Linked DNA regions of Homo sapiens: all the other regions are linked to region 3. The links are contacts of gene promoters, found by promoter capture Hi-C in blood cells and fetal thymus (Javierre and others, 2016). All regions are on one chromosome and are shown on one strand. The core of a region is centred on a gene start or on the middle of the fragment in contact, and the rest is flanking DNA. Distances in the headings are between cores, read along the strand shown. Region 1 has its middle 11 kb from the start of PLCXD2. Region 2 holds the start of ABHD10 (abhydrolase domain containing 10, depalmitoylase). Region 3 holds the start of DZIP3 (DAZ interacting zinc finger protein 3). Region 4 holds the start of ATG3 (autophagy related 3).

Evidence for each region. The method cuts DNA at HindIII sites, captures the fragments that hold promoters and counts their contacts. A CHiCAGO score of 5 or more calls a contact.
Region 1: a contact is called between a fragment that was not itself captured here and the fragment with the promoter of DZIP3 in region 3, in 1 of 17 cell types (total B cells). The highest score is 5.9, in total B cells.
Region 2: a contact is called between a fragment that was not itself captured here and the fragment with the promoter of DZIP3 in region 3, in 6 of 17 cell types (fetal thymus, total B cells, naive CD4 T cells and 3 more). The highest score is 7.3, in fetal thymus.
Region 4: a fragment that was not itself captured here is called in contact with the fragment with the promoter of DZIP3 in region 3 in 1 of 17 cell types (fetal thymus); the score reaches 6.6 in fetal thymus.

What each region holds. Positions count from the first base shown.
Region 1 is chr3:111,661,685-111,666,473 of GRCh38, forward strand. It overlaps a transcript of CD96 not described here. Among named protein-coding and RNA genes, the nearest start is that of PLCXD2, 11 kb to the right of the region's middle. The HindIII fragment of the contact is 4,726 bases long and covers 420-4,789 here.
Region 2 is chr3:111,978,868-111,983,552 of GRCh38, forward strand. ABHD10 (abhydrolase domain containing 10, depalmitoylase) reads left to right here and starts at 159. Exons shown (of 5, transcript NM_018394.4): 1 at 159-336; 2 at 2,917-3,100. The coding sequence starts at 195. RefSeq lists enhancers at 1-360, 219-268, 279-328, 349-398. The HindIII fragment of the contact is 2,121 bases long and covers 1,464-3,584 here.
Region 3 is chr3:108,587,233-108,591,689 of GRCh38, forward strand. DZIP3 (DAZ interacting zinc finger protein 3) reads left to right here and starts at 2,490. Exons shown (of 33, transcript NM_014648.4): 1 at 2,490-2,607. It overlaps CIP2A (cellular inhibitor of PP2A), which reads right to left and starts at 2,206. Exons shown (of 21, transcript NM_020890.3): 1 at 2,042-2,206. The coding sequence starts at 2,143. RefSeq lists an enhancer at 2,405-2,684. The HindIII fragment of the contact is 803 bases long and covers 2,251-3,053 here.
Region 4 is chr3:112,558,650-112,563,392 of GRCh38, forward strand. ATG3 (autophagy related 3) reads right to left here and starts at 3,313. Exons shown (of 12, transcript NM_022488.5): 1 at 2,808-3,313. The coding sequence starts at 2,879. SLC35A5 (solute carrier family 35 member A5) reads left to right here and starts at 3,396. Exons shown (of 7, transcript NM_017945.5): 1 at 3,396-3,624; 2 at 4,736-4,743. RefSeq lists enhancers at 2,075-2,884, 2,885-3,694. The HindIII fragment of the contact is 186 bases long and covers 2,047-2,232 here.

The DNA.
Region 1 (4,789 bases), core at 1,533-4,032, 3.1 Mb after region 3:
ACATCCAGGTCACACTGATGCAAAGGGTGGGCTCCCAAGGCCTTGGAAAGCTCCGCCCCTGTGATTCTGCTGAGTACAGTCCTCTTGGCTGCTTTCACAGGCCATCATTGAGTGCCTGCAGTTTTTCTAGGTGCATGGTGAGGTTGTCAGTGGATCTACCATTCTGGGGCCTGGAGAACAGTAGCCCTCTTCTCACAGCTCCACTAGGCAGTGCCCCAGTGGGGACTATGTATGGGGGTTCCAAGCTCACATTTCCCCTTTGCCTTACCCTAGTAGAGGTTCTTCCTGAGGGCTCTGCCCCTGCAGCAGACTTCTACCTGGACATTCAGGCATTTTCGTACATTCTTTGAAATCTAGGGAGAGGTTCTCAAACCTTAACTCTTACCTTCTACGCACCTGCAGGTCCAAAACCACATGGAAGCTTCCAAGGCTTGGGCTTGCACCCTCTGAAGCAACAGCCTGAGCTGTAACTGAGCCCCTTTCAGGCACAGTTGGAGCTGGAGTGGCTGGGATGCAGGGCACCATGTACCAAGGCTGCACAGAGCAGTGGAGCCCTGGGCCTAGCCCAGGAAACCATTTTTCCCTCTTAGTCCTCCAGGCCTGTGATGAAAGGTGCTGCTGTGAAGGTCTCTGAAATGCCTTGGAGGCATTTTCCCCATTGTCTTGGCTATTAACATTCAGCTCTTCTTTACTTATGCAAACTTCTGCAGCAGCCTCGAAAGTCCCCCCAGAAAATGGATTTTTCTTTTCTACCACATGGTTGGGCTACAAATTTTCCAACCTTTTATGCTGTGCTTCCTTTTTAAATATAAGTTCTAGTTTCAGGTTATTTCTTTGTTTATGCAAATGAGCATAGGCTTTAAGAAGTCACCAATTTACTTGCTTTGCACTTAGAAATTTCTTCTCCCAGATATTCTAAATCATCTCTCTTAAGTTCAAAGTTCCATAGGTTTCTACAGCAGAGGCAAAATGCCACCAGTCTCTTTGCTAAAGCATAACAAAAGTTACCTTTACTCCAGTTCCCAATAAGTTCCACATCTCCATCTGAGACAACCACAGCCCGGGCTTCACTGTCTATATCACTATCCACATTTTGGTCCATTCAACAAGTTTCTAGGAAGTTCCAAACTTTCCCTCATCTTCCTGCCTTCTTCTGATCCCTGCAAACTGTTCCAACCTCTGCTCCTTACCCAGTTCCAATGTTGTGTCCACATTTTCAGGTATCTTTATAGCAATGCCCCACTTCTCTGGCACCAATTTTCTGTATTAGTCCATTCTCACACTGCTATAGAGACATACCTGAGACTGAGTAATTTATGGAGAAAAGAGGTTTAACTGACTCGCAATTCCACAGGCTATACAGGAAGCATGGCTTGGGAGACCTCAGAAAACTTACAAACATGGTGGAAGGGCAAAGGGGAAGTAAGCAGGAGAGAGAGAGAACAAAGGAGGAAGTCCTACACCCTTTCAAACAAAAAAGTGAGTAGTACTTTTTTGCTACACACTTTTAAACAAATCTGTGAGATCTCGTGAGAACTCACTCACTATCACAAGAGCAGCAAGGGGGAAATCTGCCCCCACGATTCAAGCACCTCCCACCAGATCTCTCTCCCAACACTGGGAATTACAATTCAACATGAGACTTGGGTGAGGACACAAAGCCAAACTGTAACAGCCTTGGCAAAGAATTTTTGGTTAAGTCCCCAAAAGCAATTGTAACAAAAACAAAAGTAGACAAGTGGGACCTAATTAAACTAAAAAGTTTCTGCACAGCAAAAGAAACAATCAACAGGCCTAATATCCAGAATTTAAAGGGAAGTTAAACAAATCAACAAGCAAAAAACAACTCCTTTTAAAAAAATGGACAAAGGATATGAACAGACATTTCTCAAAAGAAGAGATACAAGTGGCCAACAAACATGAAAAAATGTTCAACATCACTAATCATTAGAGAAACACAAACCAAAATCACAATGAGATACCATCTCCCGCCAGCCAGAATGGCCATTATTAAAAAGTCAAAAAACAGATGTTGGCAAGGTTGTGAAGAAAAGAAATGCTTATACACTTTTTTTTTTTTTTGAGATGGAGTCTCGCTCTGTTGCCCAGGCTGGAGTGCAGTAGTGCTATCTCTGCTCACTGCAAGCTCCACCTCCCGGGTTCACGCCATTCTCCTGCCTCAGCCTCCCGAGTAGCTGAGACTACAGGTGCCTGCCACCACACGCCCAGAAATTTTTTTGTATTTTTAGTAGAGATGGGGTTTCACCATGTTAGCCAGGATGCTCTCGATCTCCTGACCTCGTGATCTTCCTGCCTCAGCCTCCCAAAGTGATGGGGTTACAGGCTTGAGCCACTGCGCCCAGCCGCTTATACACTTCTGGTGGGAATGTAAGTTAGTCACCGTGGAAAGCAGTCTGCATATTTCTCAAAGAACTTAAAATAGTGCTACCATTCAACCTAGCAATCACATTATTGGGTGTATACCCAAAGGAAAATAAATTATACTACCAAAAAGACGTGCAAATGTATGCTCATCACTGTGCCCTTCACAGTATCAAAAATATAGAATCAACCCAGTTGTCCATCATTTGTGGACTGGAAAAAAAATGTGGTACATATACACTGTGGAATACTATGCAGCCATTAAAAAGAATGAAATCATGTCCTTTGCAGCAACGTGGATGTAGTTTGAGGCCAAAATCCTAAGTGAAGTAATGCAGGAACAGGAAAAAAAAATACCACGTGTTCTCACTTATAAGTGGGAGCTAAACATTTAGCACATCTGGACATAAATATGGAAACAATGGACAATGTGGACTACTAGAGCATAAAGGGAAGGAGGAAGGCATGGGTTGAAAAATAACCTATCAAGTACCATGCTCACTACCTAAATGAAAAGATCTGTACCCCAAACCTCAGCATCACACAATATCCTCATGCAACTTGTACATGTACCCCTGTATCTAAAATAAAAGTTGAAATTTTAAACAAAAAAAAGGTATATTAAAAAGGGAGAGAGGACTATATTTTTCAAAAATGTCAATATAAAGAAAGGCTCTGAAAATATTCTAGATTAAAGGAGGCTAAAGAGACATGACAATTGATTGCAATACCTAACTCTAGATTGAATCCTGTACTAGAAGGGGGGAAATGGTATGAAAGACATTTATTAGATCAACTGACAAAATTAGAATATGGACAGATGACTAGATAAAAGTATTTATAACTCCGATGTTGTTATGTAAGAGATATTTTTATTCTTAGGAAATACACAGTTATTATTTAGCAGTCAAAGGACTATGATATAAATAACTTAGCCTCAAAGGGTGTGTGTTCATGTGTGCATGCATATGTATATGCATACACTTATACATACATACATGCATGTATAGATATACATGTATATGCATACAGAGAGAGATGGAAGCAAATGACAAAGTAAAGGGGGTAAATTGTTAAAGACAGATGAATCTAGGTAGATGGAATAAGTGTGTGTGTGTGTGTGTGTGTATGTGTGTGTGTGTGTCTTTTAATATTTTTACTTTTGCAACTTTTTTTGAAGTTTGAAATTATTTCCAAGTAGAAAGTTTAAACAAAAAGTACTTGAGCAAGACCCTAATGAAAGATTCTTAATTTGACTCAAAACTACCCTATTTTTCCAAGACTGCAACCTTTTTACAGTATGACAAAATCCAAAATGCTGTTTCATTGGCGTGGGGGGCAGGATTCTTTCTCTTTTCTCTGAGCATTGTTTAATCTGAAAGTTCAGAAAGAAAATAAGCAAGGATTCATCCCATAAGTTCGCTGTTTTTATATCATTTCTGGGTCTTATTCTACCCTAGGTATTGGCTGGGATCCACCAAAACTTCAATCAATTTTCCTTTCTTAAGGAGATAATTGGAGCCCTTTGATTTTCCCAAAACTCCAGAGCAAACTTACCCTCTCACCGTTGAACCATTTCATATCAAAGAAAACTAAGCTGTGTTTCTCCAGACTCCACCCAAGAAAGAGACTTTCATTCCTCCCTCAAACCCTTGGGCAGTGTTTTTTGTTGCTACTTTAGTAGAAACTACGGAAACAATTCACAGTTTACAGCAGTCCCTGCAGCAAGATCCCACACATGTGGCAGAACTGGGCAGACTCCTGCTCATCATTCCTACTTGGGGCTCCCCACACAGGAGCGGGGGCAGGAAGAAGGCTCAGCAATCACTTCTACAGAACCTCCTCCTACAGGACTTTTACCCATCACCCCAAATTTTGGGTACACAGCTTGACCAATATTTATCTGTTCAATAAATACTATTTGAAGATACTCTCTGTCCTATCTACTGAGATGAAATTTTTCAGTTTGCTATTGTTGCTTTAATGTTTATGTCAAAACGTGCAATGTCACTCCAAGATGAGGGAATGCGGGCTGTGAACTCTGTTGGACCCAAATGTCCTCAAAGGTGGAAAGCTGCCTTCACTCCTCAACGCCCCCACTGTGAGGATGAGGCCAGACACAAAGTAGTATTCAATTCAGTATCATGTGAATGAATGACAGGAAATGGCAAATGAGTGAGTAGGAGAAAGAAAAATGCCTTGTGGAGCAGAGAATTTGCTAAAGGTGGTGATTGTCACTCAAGTATGGTGAGTTGAGCTTTTCTTTTGACTCACTTCACATCACAGACTAATATATCCACTTTAAATCAATGCTCTTCTTCTAATGATTTTTATTGTGGCATGTCAGTCAGGCCAGGAGAGGTCAGGACCTAAATCTGGGCAGCTTGGCAGATGCCTTAGGCTGAAT
Region 2 (4,685 bases), core at 1,274-3,773, 3.4 Mb after region 3:
CTACTAGTAGAACCAACAGTCTAAACGAAAGAGCCACGACGCTCTGCGCATGTGCGCTCTTCGCAAGCTGAAAATCTTGCGGGGAGCTCTTTAGCAAGTTCCGCCTTCCAGCCTGAAGCGCATGCGCAGCCTCGGTTCCGTTGCGTAGCGTGTCCCTCAGTGGGACACTGCAGGGTGCGGGGACAACTACGAAGATGGCGGTTGCGCGCTTGGCAGCTGTGGCGGCCTGGGTACCTTGTCGGAGCTGGGGCTGGGCAGCCGTCCCCTTCGGTCCCCACCGTGGCCTCAGCGTGCTGCTTGCACGGATACCTCAGCGGGCGCCACGGTGGCTCCCAGGTCAGTGTCCGAAAGGCGGGAGTAGGATGCGTTCTTTCGAACGCCTCGGGTTCCGTCAGTTACCGTGCCTGTGCAGTGCGTCTTTGGCGCCCGGTTCAAAAATGCTCCTCCCCCTTTCTCAACACCCCAGTTCTAGGCGCTTTGTAGACTTCTGGTGAAGGCTGTGAGGAGAGCTCTGCCGCGGCCCTGCGGCATTCTGGGCACCCCGGGCCCTCGCTGGCGTTTTACACTGTGCAGTTTAAAGAGCTCCTGCTCCTTACCTGCCTCCCCTGCATTAAAGGCCAACACTAGAAAAAATTAAAATGTGCATTTAATGCATTATTATTAGTTACTTCTAGGAATTTGTAGATTGTGACTCCTAAAATGCTTAGACTGACTCTCCTTTGAGTTTAGGGAACCTAACAATGCGAGGCATGTTCTTTGTAAAAGTGTAGACGCCCTCATAAGCCTAATTTCTAGTTCTGCTTTCTTGCTGCACCCACTCAGTGAAAGAACCATAATCATTATTGCACAAAGGAAACTAGAATTTGGGCTAAAAATCAGAGAACCTCTTATATGTATATATAGTCTTTGAATTAGATCCTTTTATTTTTTTGGCTTTGTGTGTGGTTCACACCATTGCCACGTAGCTGTCAGATGATGCATGGTGCTTGGAGTGGTAATTAATGTCACGGCAGAGATCTTTTGTATGGAGATTTTTGTATCCAGTTTTTAAACTTTTATAATCAGATTAACTTGCATTTAATTGTGCGCAACCAAAAGGCATGTTACACATGCAAATACTCCTAGTAAAATGTAGTATGTCAATTCATTAACCAGAGTATAATATTATTTCATCTAGTTAGCACTTATTCATTGAGCACTTATGCACCAGGCTTTGAATTAATCCTTATGTTCAAAGATGATTTATGAATATAATTATATGAATCTGTCTACTTAGAACTTACATTAAATAAATTATAATCATCTCGGGGAAATTATGTTTTAAGAGGTGATTTCTGGAAGAGGATAGTGAGAATTTTTTTTAGTGCTCAGCTGAGTAGATGGGAAATGAACATGAGTGGATCAGCATAACTGGTCCTTACCAAAAGTTTTAAATTTGGCATATTTCTCTATACTTTGAAACAAGCTTTTATGTAAAAAGGATAACTTTAAGGCCTTCAGTTACATCTTTAAAAAATCAACTTCTTAATTACAAAATGGGGAAAACTTTAGCAGCACACATGGATTCTCTTCTCAAGACTGAGAAGTTTTCAAAGTGGAGGACGGCTTCATTTAATATAAAAAAAGAAAATGTATTAGTCCAAAGACTCTAAGGAAGTACACAAAACTAGTGTCTTTGGAAAGAAGAGGTGGGATTATAAATGACTCTTTTAAAAAAATATCTACTTGTTTCTTAAGAGCAAGTATAGATTTTATAATGGGGGAAAATTTGAAAAAGATGAAGTAGGATAATCTTATGAAGTTCACCAATTGTACTGTTGTACTTAAATTACACTAAAATCTCTGTGTACCATTTACAGAAAGCCAAACCAACAAAACGCAAAGTGATTGCATAGGTCTATAAGAAATCTCTTTCCAAAAACGATACTATCATATGTTGTTTTTAAAGAAACTGCTCATTGAACCCACCTCAGCTGACAATAAAATTATGAGTTGTTACCATGGCTCATGATTTCTTGGTTGAGGTAGGCGGATGGGTGGGCGGGTGGATGGGAGTCAGTAATAAAAAGGGCACAGCACGTCCTCCTTTGAAACAATTTTGCAAGGGCAGACCAAACCTGTTTCTTCCCTGACCCCCAAGAAAGTAGGGGATGAAAGGCCAGGCATGGTGGCTCACACCTGTAATTTCAGCAATGGGAGGCCAAGGTGGGAGGGTCACTTGAGCCTGGGAGTTTGAGACCAGTCTGGGCAACATAGTGAGACCCTGTCTCCACAAAAAATACAAAAATTAACCAGGTGTGGTGGTACATGCGTGTAGTGCAGCTACTGGGGAGGCTGAGGTGGGACGATGGCTTGAGCCTGAGGAGTCGAGGAAGTCCAGGCTGCCGTAAGCTAGGATTGCACCACTGCACTCTAGCCTGAGTGACAAGGTGAGACCCTGTCTCAAAAAAAAAAAAAAAAAAAAAAGAAAGAAAATAAGGGATGTGAAACTTGTCAAACAAAAAATAAATTTAAAAACAAAGCCAAAAATCTCACAAGAGAGGGCTGAAACTATTGCGGGTAAATCTGAATGTTGATTGATACTGTTTAGAATACATGATAAAGCAGTAACAAGAAAATGTTTTTCGATTAGTCTCTGTCTTTTGTTGTCTTGAAATTCCTACCGCATTGTGTATTTTGGAAGAATCAAGATTGGACTTTGCTCAAAGAAGTTACTGATGTTGGCATGATTTTAAAACTGGAGATCTCATGCACAGACTTACTTAGTACTTTGAGTCTGTTCTTGTTTTTTCTATTAAATGGAAATAGTATTTAACATCAATTCATTGAGATAAGAAAGTTAAGATCGAAAATATATATGGTTTTCCAAAGACTGAGTTTACAAACCATAGTTTACTTTTTGTGTACTTTGTTTAGCTTGTAGACAAAAGACGTCACTCTCATTCCTTAATCGACCAGACCTTCCAAACCTGGCTTATAAGAAGCTAAAAGGCAAAAGTCCAGGAATTATCTTCATCCCTGGCTATCTTTCTTATATGAATGGTACAAAAGCGTTGGCGATTGAGGAGTTTTGCAAATCTCTAGGTCACGCCTGCATAAGGTAGGAACAACACATTACTGAGAAAATATTGCTACTGTTAGCATTACAGTGGAGAATTACTTCTGTTCTAATCAGTTGAAGTAAATGCCAGCATTTTTATACATTATTTTAATGGTCTGTAAACTTGCATCTTGTGATTTAGGGTAATTTTAAAAGCAACCTTTAAAAGACCTTTTTTAAAGGCCTTTGTGCCACGCTGACAACCCTGGCAGAAAAGGACATCTTAAGGGAAATATTGGTAACTAAGCTCTTTAGAGGCAATAATGTATGTGACAACAAACAGATATACTAGTTGGCTTTCATACAGTCTCTTATATTATCATTTTCCACTGGGGACTTAAGGACTTTATTTGATCACTGTTTATCTAAAAGTAATACATGTATTTAAAAGTATCATAATGCAAATTTCTGCTGAGTTTTCTCTTCCCTCTCCTGTAATCTGAATATGTATAAGCATAAATAGGGATAAGTGGTACTTAACTCAAGCTTGATTTTATAATTCCTAATTTTTCACACTGAGAGTTATTTTAGTAAATAACTTTATGTTATTATAAGGTCTACCTGTAGCAGTTATATGTTTAGTATCCACTGTCCAGAAGAGATGGTATGATTTCGTAAAAAGAAGATTAGCCTGGAATTCAAGAAACATGAGTTCTAGAATAAATTCGAGCAATAACTATGACAAGACAAGTAAGTTAATAAACATTGGACCTAAGTTTGTCATCAAAAGAAGGAGGTTGGACTAGAGATAACTTCTGAGTTATTTTCTAGCACTAACAGCCTAAAAATCTATCCATCTAAATTTTTAGAAGAGTGACTCACAAACATTCATTCAATAATTCTAGAAAATACAGCTGTATATAAAACTTTCAGACTACCTGTTCAATATATTAGCAGCAATTATGTCAATTATAAAATTAAATAAGATTTAATCTTATTTCTTTTACCAAACTAATGAATTATTTTATTTTCATACTCAGAACTATGTTAAAATCTGTTCTGACTTATTCTGAAGATTGGAGTACTTTTTGGAAATAGATTCTCTAGCACTATACTGAGTGCTGCATAATAACAAAGAATTATAAAACATTGTACTTGCCTATGAGGACCTTTCATTCAGGGTGGGGAAACACAAGATAAAATACATGTTAGAAATTTGGCAGAAATACTCATCAGAATGTGATTGTGTCAAAAGAACAGTATACTTAATTGCATAAAGTTAGAGACAGTGGGATTGAAATAGATAAAGGAACGTTGAAGAATAATTCAGATTTGGGTGGGAGGGAAGTGCTGTCCAAGGAGGGGGACTGTCCTGAGCAGAAGATCATAATATCAAAAATATTGTTATCACTTTTCTTTTTTGCCACTGAATAAATTTGAATCGAGAAATCACCATTTTACCAGTTCTAAAATTTCAGCTTTGAGACTATGAGAGTTATAACCAGTTCCTGTCTCCCTATAAGACATAATGTGGCTTTTCTGCATTTTTGGATCCTGTGTGAGTATACCTTCATAAAGAATAGTGCTTAACTACAAATATTTAGTTTGAACAAGTTCCATTTTATTTGCTCTTATCAAAGTTCAT
Region 3 (4,457 bases), core at 1,240-3,739:
CAGCTTTATTCTTAATTCCACCCAGAAATGTAAACAACCCAAATGCCTATCAACAGGAAAGTGTATGTAAACTGTGGTACACTTATACAATAGAATTCTACACATCAATAATAAAAAAAATGAAGTAGCGGTACATGTGCAACATGAATTTCACAGATTTTATTGAGTGGAAAAGGCCAGACACAAGAGTACATATTGTATGAGTCTACTTACCCAAACCTTATGTGAAGAGGCAATGAAGAAACCCTATGGGGCTAGAAATGTTCTGTATCATGATACAGGTGGTAGCTACTCTACCTATATGTTAGCTACCAATATGGTAGCTATGGTACCTATATATTAAAAACTATCAAACTCTTCACTTAAGATTAATGCACTTTATGCTCTGTATGTATTTTATCTCTTAATTACAAAAAGTCCTTTTTAGTAGTAACCTGAAGCCAGTGCTCTTCATACCTTTGCAACAACGGTAGAAGAGTTTTATGTAAACCCCTTGAAAGTTTAGGAATACAGTAAAGACCCCATCCCATATTTTGTTTAAGTCTCTCTTTTTTTTTGTTTTGTTTTTGAGACGGAGTCTCACTCTGTCACCCATGTTGGAGTGCAGTGGAGCGATCTCTACTTATGCAACCTCAGCCTCCCGAGTTCAAGCGATTCTCCAGCCTCAGCCTCCCGAGTAGCTGGGACAACAGAGAGACGCCACGCCCAGGTAATTTTTGTATTTTTAGTAGAGACGGGGTTTCGCATGTTGGTCAGGCTGGTCTCAAACTCCCGACCTCAGGTGATCCGCTCGCCTCGGCCTCCCAAAGTGCTGGGATTACAGGTGTAAGCCCCTGTGCCTTAAATCTCTTTCAGTGCACAACCTTCCTGTTTATTCAAAGAAAGGTAATGCTTCAGAATAGCATACAAAATGCTTAACTCCCGATTTTTAAATTAAACGGACTGCCCTGCTTATTCTGCGGCTTCTGGAGCCTATGCTAATTCAGAAGCAAAGCCTTAAGCATTTAACAGCTAACACCTTAATTATTAGGTTTGCAGGCACTTCTTAAAATAAAGAATGAAAAAGAGAAAACAAATGTACTTAGGAGATGGGCACTTGAAGTAGGGAAAAGAGGAGCACCAGTGAAGCTCAAGATAAGACAGACACATTTAATACAACAGCAGCTTCACTAACAGCTGCTGTTGCTCTACTACTGGAAATCATTTTTTTCCTGTAATATTTTACAAATTTTTGGCACATTAGTCTTTTATCATAGGGTTAATATAATACAATATATTTTAAAATTATGTTCAATTCTACCTTAACAGAGGAAAGCTGTGACACAGAGAGTTAAAATAAGCCTTAATTGAGCTTTAAAAAAATTAAACTGAGGTCAATGTTAGTTTGAATTCCGTAAATGCAAAACAAATGAAAGCAGAAGATTAAGATCCTAAAACAAACGGAATCGTCTGGACACATATCACTAGAATAGAAAAAAAGGCAATTCAGCATTCTAAGATTAAAAAACTGTAAGCAATGTATTTTGGTAAAGAAAAAGGATTACGCTTACTAGGAAGGGGAAGTGCTTCTTAATGTTGAAATAATGTTTTTCAAGTTTGAGTTCAACCCGAGTTCAAGTAAGAGCAGTAAGCAACAAATTCAATTATAGATTACCGAAGGGCAAAACCAAGTTTTAATCATGACTTTCCGTCACTGAGAATAGTTGTGTATTGAGGGCTTGGTTTCGTAGAAAAACCAAAACTAGAAGCAAAGGAAAAGATAAAGTTCCGAGCTTTTTCCGTTACCTACTCGAAACAACCTGAACTTCCCAACCTTTTGCCCCACTCCCGCTTTTCCTAGAGCCTTCAGTGAGCGCTCTTGCCTCTCGCTGCGGCCAGCGGAACCCCGACACTCACTAGCCTTTACCAGTACGAAAAGACAACAGAGGGATCGAAGGACTGTCCTTTCTTTCCCAGGCTGGGGCCGCCACTCCTCGGCCTCACTGTGAAATAAGAATTGCTAGGGGAAGCCCCATCTGTCCTCTACCCCAGAGCCTCTCACCTCCAAGTGCCGCAAAAGCTGAGTGGCGTTCGCCTCTGACTTCACGGCTTTGTACTGACTGACAGTCAGGAGCAAGGACTTCAAGCAGGCAGTGGAGTCCATTGCACCGGCCGCGGCCCGGCTTAGGGACCACCACCGCCCAGCGTGCGCCGGCCTTTAGCTTTCGCCGCGCTTTTTTTGATTTTCGGCCCCACCCCCTCGCTCTCAGAAGCTTCCGGATCCGGTCGGGCTCCGGAAGTCCCTAGGCACCCTAGGGGACCGTTCTCGGTGACGGCCGGGGTGGGCCAGGGGTCGAGGTGATTTGTGGGTCCAGGACGGGGGTTGGGAGCTGCCCCCGCTAACCCACCCTCGTCTGAGAGGCCGCGAGGTTTCGGCCTGAGATCCCGTGAAGGCGAGAAATCTCGCGATTTCTCGGGAGAGGAATCGGTTAGGAGAAGGGGGATTCCTCACTCAGCTGTGCGCTCTGATTTCGTGCGCTTCCTCGTCCTTCATGTTGGATGGCCAGTTTTTCGTTTGTGCGTCATCCTCTACCTGAGAAATGGTCGCTTGCCCCTAGTCTAGACACGGTGAGGAGCTCTGAGGAGAAGAATCTTGGGCCCTAGATTTTGAGGCGGCCTGGGAGGGGCCTCGTTTTTAAATCTCTCCTACACCCGCCCCTTCTGCCCGGGGATGGTAGTTTCTCAGAGTCAACCTATTGGCATTATGTGGCAAATTAGTCATGCCCTGACCAAAGTATTTGTCACATTTATTCGAGAAGACTACCTCCTGCTGACCCTGGGCCAGGTATTGCTCCGGAGGGTGTTACTCGTTAGCGTCAGTTTTTGTAAGTGAAGGTGTCTGTTTCTCTCTGGCATGATTGATTGTTTTATAATTCTCGATGTCTACGAAAATGGCACTATTATTTGCGTTTTTTAAATCGGAGATAGCTTAATATTATTGCATGTGTATGTAATGAAGCGAGTCAGTTACTGGTTTTGGAGCTTTTTGCTTAATATTTCCTAACGTCGAATAAAGCTTTAAAAACCAGGATGTAGAAATTGTAAGAATAGGGTACATTTCCATTTAATTAAATCGTTTATCAGAAATCATGTTTTTTCACTTCAAAAGAATTTTTTTGAATTACTAGATTTTTGAAGACAGGTTTGGTGTTTTGGTTTTGTTTTTTATAAAAGTTTAAATCTGAAAGATAAAAATGATTTAACCAGTTGGGACATTCATGTAAAAATCTTTGGGTAGCTTGTGTGTTCATTTATGCTTTCATTCATTCCGTAAACAATTATAGAGCGTGTAACATGGGTTAGAAACTGCCAGTCAGGGAACAGAGATGAAGTAGTATCCCCTGCTGCGAGGGAACTGTCTAGTAAGGGAAACATACAAAATAGTACTTTTGAAATTCACCACATAAATGAGAGGCACCATGCAGTAACATGCAGCAGTGGTAAAGAGTAGAGAGCCAGGTTGCTTACAGATTCTAGCTCCACCTTTGACGATGTGACTCTAGGCAAGTTCTCACTGCTGCAGAATCTTCATTAGGTAAAATCTGGCCAAGGGAGATACCTGGTTCATAGGACTGTTCATTCAATAAGTAGTTCATTGAGAATCTACAATGTGCTAAGCACTTTTCTAGACACAATAGACTCAGTGAAAAAAACAAAAATACTACTGGCATGCAACTTACATTTTGGTAGGGAACCAAATAATAAACACAATAAATAAGTAAGGAAAATGATATAAAGAGAAAAATAGACGTTATTACTCTAGAATAATGTTGGTAATTGATAAGGGAAATGGGAAGGTGACCTCATTAAGAAAGCAACATTTGGGGAAATGCTTCAAGGAGTTGAGAAAGGGAGCCATATTCTATGGGAAAAGGTTTTTAGATAGAGGAAATGGCAAAGAAAGACCCTAAAGTGGGATACTGTATGCCAGAAACAAGGATGCCATGTGGCTAGTGTAGAAAGAACGAGGAGGAGAGGAGTAGAGATGAGGTCCTATACGGTCTTGGAGATGGTTAAAAAATGAATTAATGTAAAGTGTCAGCTGTCATCTGGCATAATTAAGTTCTCAGTGTTACAGTCAGTGCCTCATTGGCAAATGAAGTGATCAGAGTTTGATAGTGTTGGACTTTTCATCTGTGATGATGTGTCAGCATCGTCCCCATTCAGAGGCCCAGGGTAATGCGCAAAGCTGCGTGCTATCAGTGCCATCTTTGTTGGATTTTGACTTAAGCAGTCATACAAATTTTGTATTCTCTTCTGTAATTAATATCAAATGTCTTTCTCAAAAAATCTTCACCAAAATTGATGTTGTAAGTTTAGTAAGAGGGATCGTTTCTAGCTGTGATAAGTCTTGACATTTTTAATCAGAGATACTTGCATATCCTAATTTGAGAAACACCAATCCATACTTTTAGGCC
Region 4 (4,743 bases), core at 890-3,389, 4.0 Mb after region 3:
CAAGTCTAATGTAGGAAACAGACATGAAAATAATTATAATACTATCAGATCAGTGCTATAATAGAGTAAAGCTCTATGTAGAAACATTCTTTTTTTTTTTTTTTAAGATGGAGTTTCACTCCTGTTGCCCAGGCTGGAGTGCAGTGGCGCCATCTTGGCTCACGGCAACCTCCACCTCCCGGGTTCAAGCGATTCTCCTGCCTCAGCCTCCTGCCTGTAGCTGGGATTACAGGCATGTGCCACCATGCCCGGCTAATTTTTGCATTTTTAGTAGAGACAGGGTTTCTCCATGTTTGTCAGGCTGGTCTCGAACTCCTGACCTCAGGTGATCCACCCGCCTCGGCCTCCCAATGTGCTGGGATTACAGGCGTGAGCCACTGCGCCCGGCCAAGCTCTATGTACAAACATTCTAAGATTTAAATAAAAATAAAGCCTTACAGTGATTCTGTGAAATGAACAAATACCTTTATTTTACAGCACAGCAAAAATGTCTTAAAGATGTTTAGACATCTTACAATTCAGCCAGTCTTATTTAAACTGAATAATGTTAGAAACCAAATCTAGAAATTATTTAGCATTTTCCTCTAATTCTCATCTCCACCAAGATACTGACACACTATTCTCTAAATTTTTCTAAACTTTAAGTTATATGTAAGATTTTCTGGTAGAGTCTACAAAAATGAAAACACTCATTTATAAACATTATTCATTCAACAAATGTTTACTATGTGCCAGACACTATTTGAGGCAGTGGGGATATTTGGGGGTGAATAACATAAATACAAATTTATTCTTGCCCTCATAAGGAGTTTCAACTCCAGTTGAGGAAGAAAAGCCAAATGGTAATGAATAACATACCATAAAGAAAAATGAAGCTGAGAGGAATCTGTGGGGTGGCTGGGGAGAGATGGCCATTTAAAATAGAATGGTAAGAGAACAAAGACTTCACTGAATAATGACTTAAAAACCTTAAGGAAAGGAACATGCCATAAGGCTGTTAAGTGCGAAGCGCGTTTCAGATAGAGGGAAGAGCACATGCAAAACCCCAAACCAAGAGTGTGCTTAACAGAATAATAAAGAGATCAGGTTAGCTTAAGCAACAGCAGTCAGGGGATGGAGCAGATGAGATTGGGGCCTCTACCAATTAAGCAGAACCTTAGAGATGATTGTAAGAACTTCAGTGTTTACTGCATGTACATACTCCAAACAAAACATGATTTTTCTTAATTTTTACTTGCTAGGAGAAGGCTATTACTTATTTCCTGAGGATTTTGTTCTTTCTCCTTGCCCTCCCTAAGCAGGAAACTGTAAGGATTCTCTCTGTAAACAACAGTTTGCACAGGAGTATCAAGGAGACGGTCATTCATTCTTTCCTTTTTACTAAAGACATATACCATACATACTGACATGCCAACAGTTCCTTTTCAGTTTGGTGAGCAAGTATGATGGACTCCTGAAAACATAATTCTACATCATACATTTTATATTTCATTTGGGCAGTCTCTTGCTCCTCTCTCCCGGAAACTAAAAAGTTGTACAATGGTGTATTATTAAAATACTGTATACCTAGGTAGATATGATATTCTGAAAAGTTAACATAATTATGTAAAAGCATTTGATTCAAATGTGAAAATTATTTTCCAATCTTAGTTTGACTGAATAATCTTAAAATGACTTTCACAGTAAACAAATGTAAGCAAAGCAACAGTTGAAATTCTCATTTATAATCGCTGGTTTATTTCTTACTTGGCCAATAAGTTATTCTTTTAAAAGGAGCTTTACAAAAACGTATTTTAAAAAGTATAGACCTAGTACTTCCCTTTGTCATGGAAAGGGAGCAAAGCAAAACTCTCCACTATTCTTAGCATATTAAGGTATTTCACCCCCACACTGAGATTGGTACATTCTAACTGAAAGCTTAAAAACAACTAGAAAAAAAAAACAAAAACTAAGCAAGAACTTCCCATTAATTTACTATTCTTGCTCACTTTTCAGAAAGCAAAAATGAAGTTACAACAAAACACTCCAAAAGAGTTATAAAAGAAAAGCTTGAAGGCAGTTGTAGAAATTTACCTTTAAAAAAAAAATCAGTCACTACTGTAACAGCTAATGTGTCACAATTTTTTACTTTAAAAATGCTGTACTGTTGCCAATATATTTTTAAAAATTATACAGCCAGGAAGGTCAAACCGTGCCTTGTTATCACTAATAACCAGCTACGGCTATCTGAAAAGCTTGGGAAAAAGGTTTTGCTCGTTAGATGGGTTCAAGGTTACTGAATGAGATAATGTTGCCAATTTCACCTCCTTCCTCTGAAATCTAAACGAGTTGGGATCGCAGTCACAACTTCCCCACTACAGCGGACTTTCATGAAACTTAAAGGAAAAGTGACCTCACCTCAGGTCTCTTTTGACCTCTGTGTGTCAAACACTAAATTCATTTTTTAAAGAGAAGCAAAATCCTTGCTTAAAAAGGCTAAAAGACTTCCAGTGTTTGGATTTAACGTTCTTCAATCTACTCAGCCTCCGAACACCCTTCCAACCCGACGTACCCGACCGCGCAGAGTTATGACGGGAGAAGGCAGGAACACGCAGAGCGTCGCTCCAAGTTTACCCCTGAGGAGTCAGAAAGCCCTAACGAACAGCCGGTTAAGACTACGGGTGGGGGCTGCACACTTCCCTGTGTCTCGAGCCCTACTGCCTTCCTACACCTTGCCCCGCCGGAGAAAGCGGGGACTCCTGCGGCGCCTGGTCCCTGAAAAGTCGAGCATGTGCCTGACAGCTCCCGGCAACCCTGGCCTGGCTTACCTTGAGGACCGGGGTCAGGTACTCAGCCACTTCCAGTGCCTTTCCCTTCACAGTATTAATCACATTCTGCATCCTGGGGCCGGAGTAGCGGCCGGCCCCGCGACGGGATGGAAAGTGCAGCCGTGTCAGGGGCCAGGGAGTCAGAAAATGTCCTCGCTGCCACCGACTCGCATCAGCACCCGGCTGGCAGCACCCGAGGGGACGGGACGCGACGCGACGGGACGGGCGGGACGAGGGGGCGGGGCGGCAGGCACAGCGCGCGAAGACGGGGTGCGCGATCCTCGCACCCCAGGCAGCCCGCGACGGACCGGACCCAGCTGTCACCCAGCCGCGAGGGAGGGCAGCGGGGCCGAAGGGAGACCTGAGGTGAGAAGCGGACGCACACGCACCCCTCGCCCTCTGCGAGCTGTCTGTCCTCGCTTTGCTTCACTCGCGCCCCTTCCGGCTTCCCTTCCTTCTCACTCTCTTGCCGTAGCTGCGCCGCCACCGGGGCCTCACGTGACACTAGACTCTCCCGGCACGTGACGTGAGAAAGGGGCCGGGCTGGGGCGGGATAAGCCGCTTCTCCCCTCCTTCCGGAAGCGTAACACTGAACGTGCCTGCGCAATGGGTGTCGGGTCCGCTTTTTCCCAATCCGGACGTAATCGTGGTTTTTGTTCTGCAATAGGCGGCTTAGAGGGAGGGGCTTTTTCGCCTATACCTACTGTAGCTTCTCCACGTATGGACCCTAAAGGCTACTGCTGCTACTACGGGGCTAGACAGTTACTGTCTCAGCTCTAGGATGTGCGTTCTTCCACTAGAAGCTCTTCTGAGGGAGGTAACCGCGCCCCGCGGGCAAGGAATTGCGCCTGCGTCTGAGGGGAGGGTGCGCCAGTGAAGAGCCCTACTGCGCATGTGTGACTAGAAGGGTAGTCCCTGACTGTGAAGGGAAATCTGGCCCCCTCCTGTCGGGGAGGCGTCCTGTAGGCGTGCGCCCAATGGGGCTGTCAGTATTGGCATTTCTCCCCACTCCCCGCAGGCTCTATGCGCTATTCCTACAGTACGCTGGGAGGCTTTGGGCAAGTTACTTACCCAACCTGGGGTTTAGTGTCCTCAGCCTATCAAAAGAGGGCCTTAGATTCATTGATTTCTACGATCTCCTCCATTTCAAACACTAACTAGTTCAGTAAAACTTTACAGCAGTGTTTCAGATATTTCCATTTTGGTCGTTATTGTAATGAAGTCTGTCCTAATAAGCTTTTTCCTCCGAGGGAAAAGAGGAGGAAAATACAATTCTGAAAGCCTTATCTTACAGCAAAATTATTTACTAATAAGAGTAAAAGCGAGGCCGGGCGCGGTGGCTCACGCCTGTAATCCCAGCACTTTGGGAGGCAGAGGCGGGCGGATCACAGTCAGGAGTTCGAGACCAGCCTGGCCAACATAGTGAAACCCCGTCTCTACTAAAAATACAAAAATTAGCCGGGCGTGGTGGCGGGCGCTTGTAGTCCCAGCTATTCTGGAGGCTGACGCAGGAGAATCGCTTGAGTCCGGTAGGTAGGGGTTGCAGTGAGCCAAGACCGCGCCGTTGCACTCCAGCCTGGGTGACAGAGCGAGACTCCGTCTCAAAATACATAAATAAATAAAATTTAAAAATAAAATTCAAAATTGCTTTGAAGAATTCTTTTCTGCTGTTGCAAAGTGTCATTTGCTCACCTGCTACCTTTGTCAGCAGGTCTAATCTGGTTCTACGTTTTCTGTCTCCAGAGTACTCCCTCTTATCAGATTTTCACTTTCCTTTTGTCATAGTTTCTTTATGCCTCAACTTTCTTGGTGCTGATATAGTCATAGCCAAAATTTTTTAAAAATTCCTTTTTTGTCCTCACGATCAATGGTATTTGCGTTTAGGGTCTGCCAACAAGGTCGTTCATGAAAGTGTTTTTCTCTTTAAGGTAATTAA